Linked DNA regions of Homo sapiens: region 1 is linked to region 2. Evidence: promoter capture Hi-C in 16 types of primary human blood cells and fetal thymus (Javierre and others, 2016). All regions are on one chromosome and are shown on one strand. Each heading gives the region's core, a stretch centred on a gene start or on the middle of the fragment in contact. The rest is flanking DNA. Distances are from core to core; before and after follow the strand shown.

Region 1 (2,874 bases), core at 258-2,757, 320 kb before region 2:
TGAGAGCCACAGGAATTAACTGGATGGAGAAATCACTCTAAGCTCTGCTAAGTTTCACATGGCAGTCTTAATGGAATTGGAGGAATTTAAGCTGGATGTTGGATAAAGGGTCAGACTTATATGTCTGGGTAGAAAGAAAGATAAAAGTCCTGGGTTCAGAGGCCTGCAAATGGATGAGTTTGGTTGCACCGTAGGTTTTCTGCAGGACAGTGGTTTCAAACTCAGAAGCCAGGGGTGCCAGGCAGGTAGGCAGCCTAAATGTGTGAGACAGGTCTAGAGAGGTAGACAAGTAGAAGAGAGTGGGGCTGACTGGCCATGTGTGTTCCATTGTAAGATATTTTAAAAAAAAATGTGTAACACCAAACTACACTTTGCTGGTCAAACCAAACGCTGGTTTTTGCAGCTTGTAATTCCTGGTGGGGGAATGTCAGTTGATAAAGTTAAACTGTCTGCAGAATTTAGCAAAGTAAAATAGGCCATAGAGGAATTATGACCATAGCTAGAGTCCCCCTGAATATCATGCTACTTTTATTTGTATTATCGTACTTCTGACCAAATGAGGGGAATATTTTGAAATATGTATGAATGGCCCATCCTTGTGGCTATTTGAACTAAACACAGGCTTTGGGTATTTAGAGTCTCTGAAAACATCACTGAGATTAATTTGAATGACATTCGATTTTCTAGGATATGGCACTATCATAATTTAGGTTATATTTTATATCCTAGAATATACTTAACTCCTTTCCTACTCTCTCAGTTCTTTACTTTCTAATAAGATCTATTGAGGAACGAAAGGATAAAGAGTATATAGGTACTATTTCTTTCTTTTTGCTTTTCAATATGCTTATCTTTAATCGTCATGTATTTATGATTTTGAATAACAGTTTCTATTTTTGTGGGTATATTCATAATTATATGGCCATTTGGTGATATGCATAGATACGCTGTACTTAAAAAATCTCATGTTAAATAAGGTAACTTATTACTGTATTAAGTCAACATTAAATATTTTTCTACAGTCTGGAAAGGGTTGAATTTAAATCCAAGTTAAGTGGCCCATCCCAACTGTTATGGTGTTTCATTGACAGGAATAGAATCCAGATTGTCCATGTTACCTTCCAGTCCTTTATCTGTTACTCCCCACTGCTATAAGACTCAGTTTAAAGGCTGGCAGAGCTCTCGTATTTAAAAGAGAAAGTGTAATTTTATCCAGAGAAGATAAATATGTGCCCTAAAATGAAAGAAAGACCAGAGGTCCAGACCATAGCTAGGTGTTTTTGGAAAGAGCCAAATTGGACAACTAAATTGGAAAAGGTTGCCTGCATTTATAAAGGAGATTTCTTTGCTATTTATTAATAATTAGCAAGGTCTTAGCTTGTCTAGCTTTGTATTTTTAAATCTGCCCAGTAATGAATTCATATCCTATTAGTCGGTATGTTAGTAGCATGTTGTGTTGTTTCTGTCTTTGAAGTATTAATACTATGATACACATGCCTCTATGAAGTAAAACTACCAAATGATCTTGGTTCTCTTCTTCTCTCTTGAATATATTTCCCAGACAGTGGTGACTGATTACAGTGAAGGATGACCAGCTCTCCAGTGGGAAAAACAAAGTTAGAGCTAAAGTGTAGTATGGGCATTGCTTGTTCTCACTTTTAGGAAATCAAGAAACTTTGGAGTAAAATAGAACTGAATTAGTAAAAAATGAGAAAAGTGTGATCCAGTACCAAATGACCTCATAGGATGGGAGGGCAGTAAAGAATTTTTTCAAAAAGGAAACACTGAATATAGCAATATGGGACCAATATCAAGAAATACAATTTTTTTACAGATAAAGTGAGAGGCTTAATGTTCGATGGTTTTAGTCTTAGAAGTTTGTTTTGAACAATAGACTAAAGGGCACGCAAAACTTCCAGAAATAAGGATTACTCCCATATTACGAGAAATGGGTGTGGATTTTGGTTTGGTTATTATGGGGACCAGCCAAATATTTCACGGCAGTTGTTAAAGGATGTGCTTTTGGGAACAAACTCATTTAAGAGTGATGTGCAAAATGGTACATTAGGGAAGATCTAAATATGAAATAATCAGAAATGTTAGGTAATAGAAAACTGCTTTAGATAAGCTGAGTTTGGATCACATGTCCAAATTGAGCAAGATGCAGTTTCAGAAGGAACAAAGTTTGAGTTATTGATGAGATTCAATTAAAGAATATTAATTTTATGATACTTTGTTGCTTATAGATGCATGAGGGGCAAGATAAGCCAATAAAGATCCTGTAACAAGCCAGCCTATGGTCTTCTTGTATTGTGGAGAAATGTGTGTATTAGAGGTTGAAAGGCGCAAGGGCCTCCTGTTTGGTCGGGAAGTGATTCAAGAAATCTTTGTTTTTGAGATGGAGTCTCGCTGGGTCACCCAGGCTGGAGTGCAGTGGCGCAATCTCGGCTCACTCTAGCCTCCACCTCCAAGGTTCAGGCTATTCTCTTGCCTCAGCCTTCTGAGTAGCTGGGCTACAGGTGCATGCCATTGTGCCTGGCTATTTTTTAAAATATTTTTAGTAGAGATGGGGTTTCTCCATGTTGGCCAGACTGATCTTGAACTCCTGACCTCAAGTAATCTGCCTGCCTTGGCCTCCCAAAGTGTAGGGATTACAGGCGTGAGCCACTGTGCGTGGCCAAGAAATCTTTTTCTGGAATTATTTGAGCCTGCATCACTTGAAGATATGTAGTACTTTAATGTGTGGTGTGGGTGGGGTGGGGATGAGGGTAGGGGTGGAAAGTGACATTTGCACTGTATGAAGTACAAGTGAGGCAGAGATGCTAGCGTCTGTTATTACTTGAGAGAGATGAGGCTAGTGTTGGAGGACAAGGC
Region 2 (2,909 bases), core at 212-2,711:
ATTCTATTCCTAAGTCAGAACTCACATTATGTCTGACCGTCCACTACGCCCTCTCCTTGCCCTGAAGTTGAAATGGATAAACAGAATCCCATTGCTAAAGCGACCTTCAACGGGGAAGATCCTTGGGAGAAAGACTTTGCTACAAGTTTAAAAGCCCCAGGTAACCCTGGCCCAAATCACTACCGGTGCCTTCACTCTGCACCTTCCCCATGACCAAGGGGGCACAAGGGGGGAGGGGGGAACCTCAGGCGAGGCTCCCGGAGGAAGAGGAACACTGGAAGCAAGGGAACCCTGAGGGTGAGGAGGGGATGCCTGGCTATTCTCCTTGGGAAATTATGTCCTGACCTTTGGCATTGCTTCCTAAAGGGGTAGACTCCCGGAGTTCTTTCTCCCAAAGACTTCAGGGATATCATCCTATAAAGTCTCCTTGCGTCCCTCCAGCCTCGAGTAACATTACTCAGCCTCCGAAGGGCAACGAAAGACTGGTAGCACCCCCAAGCAAGCACATTCTCCACACTTCCTCTGCTCATCCCAAACCTCGCTCCTTCCCACCTCCCCACCAACCCCGCACCTGACCCGTGACAGACAGAACTGAAGGAGCGCAGCCCGCAGACCTGGAAGCCGGGTGCAGCCTCCAGGCACGTGCCCCCGCTCCGCCTCTGCCTAAGTCAAGTGGCCCGGGCAAAACTACTGCCAAAACAGTTGCTCTTAGGTGGGGCAGGGGACCTGCCTCCCTGCATCCACCCGGCACTAGCTCAGCACCCCCGCCCCACAAACCGTCCCCGCAGCCGCGCACGGCCCTCTCCGGCGGCGCACTCACCTGCAGCTGGGCTTGGCTGGCGTTGCCCGCGGCCGCGTCGGGCCCGTCGGCGGCTCCCGAGCCGCGCAGCACGGTGATGTGCAGCGTGAGCAGCAGCAGCCCCAGCAGCAGCAGCAGCTCGGCCGCCAGGCGCACCATCCTTTTGAGACGCGCGGCTTTAGGACCCGGCGCGGCGGCCGGCGGCGGCGGCGGTGACGCCGGGGGAGGAGGAGTAGGAGCCCGGGAGCCCGGCAGCGCGGCTCCCGCCTCGGCTCCCGCCAGGGCTCCGCTTCCCGGGCCCGCGGGGCTGGCGCTGGGCGCGGCGGGGTGTGCGGGGCCGGGGGAGCAGGAGCTGCCGGCGCCGCCGCCGCCGCCGCCGCCGCACCACGGCGGAGCCACCGCGAGGCCGGGGGTGTCCAAGCCGGCTGCGGAGCAAGCCCCGGCGCTGCCTGGCGGCGGCGGCGGCGGAGACGGAGACTGGGTCCCGGGACAGCCCGGGACCCGGGCCGGGCCGGAGGCCACCCTGCTGGCAGGGGGCTGCGGGGTCGGCGGCGGGGCGGGCGCAGCCGAGCCCCCGAGCGCACATGGGCGCCCCAGATGTGGCCGCGGCGCCGCAGCTGGAGCGGGAGCGGCCGCCAGAGAAGCGCGGGGAGGAGGAGGAGGAGAAGGAGAAGGAGGAGGAGGAGGAGGAGGAGGAGGAGGAGGAGGAGGAGGAGTAGGAGGGCTTCAGCTGCGGCCGGGAGTTACCTCCACGCTTGGCGCCCCCGCCCTCGCCGCCCCGAGCCACTCACCCGGCAAGCCACCTCCACTACTCTCCGCGCTCCTCGGGGCCGCCTGCCGCGCCGCCCCGCACTCGGAGTCCCGGGGAGGGCCGGTTCCAGATGGGGGCCCCGGGCACACCGAGGTTGTCACGGTTTGGCGGTAGCCGGGGCGCCCTCGGCGGCAGCGTCAGCCTGCCGGGCTGTACCAAGTGCCCGCTGCCGAGGTCGCTGTGACGGGCGCGGGTAGAGCCCTTGTGCACACTGAGGCTCGGGGCTGTGGGTGGGTGGGGTGGTGCCTGGGCTGCTTTAGAAACCTTTATTGGCAAACTGGAGCTGGAGTTGCAGTGATGGAAAACGGAGGGGGCGCCGGACAAGCCATGCGTCTGCCTGCGACCCCTGCCTGAAGCAGTCGGGGGAGAGGAGGAGTGCCAAAGTGTCGTTCCGAAGGGTCTTGACACTTGCTGGGCCGCCCGCTAGCCGGGCACGGCTGTTCGCGGATCCGCGGCGCCCCGTAGAGCCTGGGAAGGGAGGGGAGTCCGACTCTCTAGGCGTTCGTCTGGTCACGGGCGCAGGTGTTGGCTGGAAGCTGCAGAGACGCAGTGCCCGCGGCTCAGGCGCTCAGGAACTCGGAGTGAATCTCAGCTCTAGTGGGCTTGCCTCTGTGGGGGGCTCATCCCGGGGGTGCCGCGCCCAGAGGGGATTTGGGGGCTGGCGTCGCGCAGCTGTCGATCCCGGGCCACCGCCTCATGACCGCGCTGCAGCCTCGGGCTCCCGCGTGCGGCTCATGCCTTGCAGTGGGCGGTTGGCGAATGGAAGGGCTCTGGGATCCGGCTGAGGGCGCGGAGTCCGAGCGTCAGATGCTAGAGCGAACTGTGTCGGTCCGTGGCACCGCGCACTTCCCTCCTTGACCTTGCTCGGGCTCCCGCCTTACCGAAGTGACTCGGAGTAGCGGACGCTCAGTCCGGCCGGGACTTTTATACTGCGCTTCCCCTCCTCCTACCCGTTCCCTCCCTTCCTCCTCCCCAGCGCCGGCCCAGCCCTTCCCTCCCAGCGAGCCAAGACCTAGTCCACGCGTTCGCACACAGCCGCGTCGCACATTTCCAAGCCTTTCCCGCGTCCCGGACCCCAGTGCCTCCGGGATGGAGCCTCCGAATTCTCCCTTGGTGAATGAAATTAAATAAATAATCAACTCTTTCTTGACGGCACGCCTCCCTTTCCCCCTCCCCAATTTCCTACCTTCCTTCTCCGCGTCCTAGAAAGATTTAAGATTCTTAATTCAACTGCTTTCGAGTTCTCGCAAGGCATCTCAACCAAGTATTAACCAAATTAAGGCAAACCCTTGCGCCTTT

Evidence for each region. The method cuts DNA at HindIII sites, captures the fragments that hold promoters and counts their contacts. A CHiCAGO score of 5 or more calls a contact.
Region 1: a fragment that was not itself captured here is called in contact with the fragment with the promoter of ISM1 in region 2 in 2 of 17 cell types (naive CD4 T cells and naive CD8 T cells); the score reaches 8.7 in naive CD4 T cells.

What each region holds. Positions count from the first base shown.
Region 1 is chr20:13,543,122-13,545,995 of GRCh38, reverse strand. The region is part of intron 8 of TASP1 (taspase 1); the gene reads left to right. Among named protein-coding and RNA genes, the nearest start is that of TASP1, 94 kb to the left of the region's middle. The HindIII fragment of the contact is 3,963 bases long and covers 1-2,874 here.
Region 2 is chr20:13,219,826-13,222,734 of GRCh38, reverse strand. It overlaps ISM1 (isthmin 1), which reads right to left and starts at 1,461. Exons shown (of 6, transcript NM_080826.2): 1 at 821-1,461. The coding sequence starts at 958. It also overlaps a transcript of TASP1 not described here. RefSeq lists silencers at 1,030-1,099, 1,559-1,678. The HindIII fragment of the contact is 8,964 bases long and covers 1-2,909 here.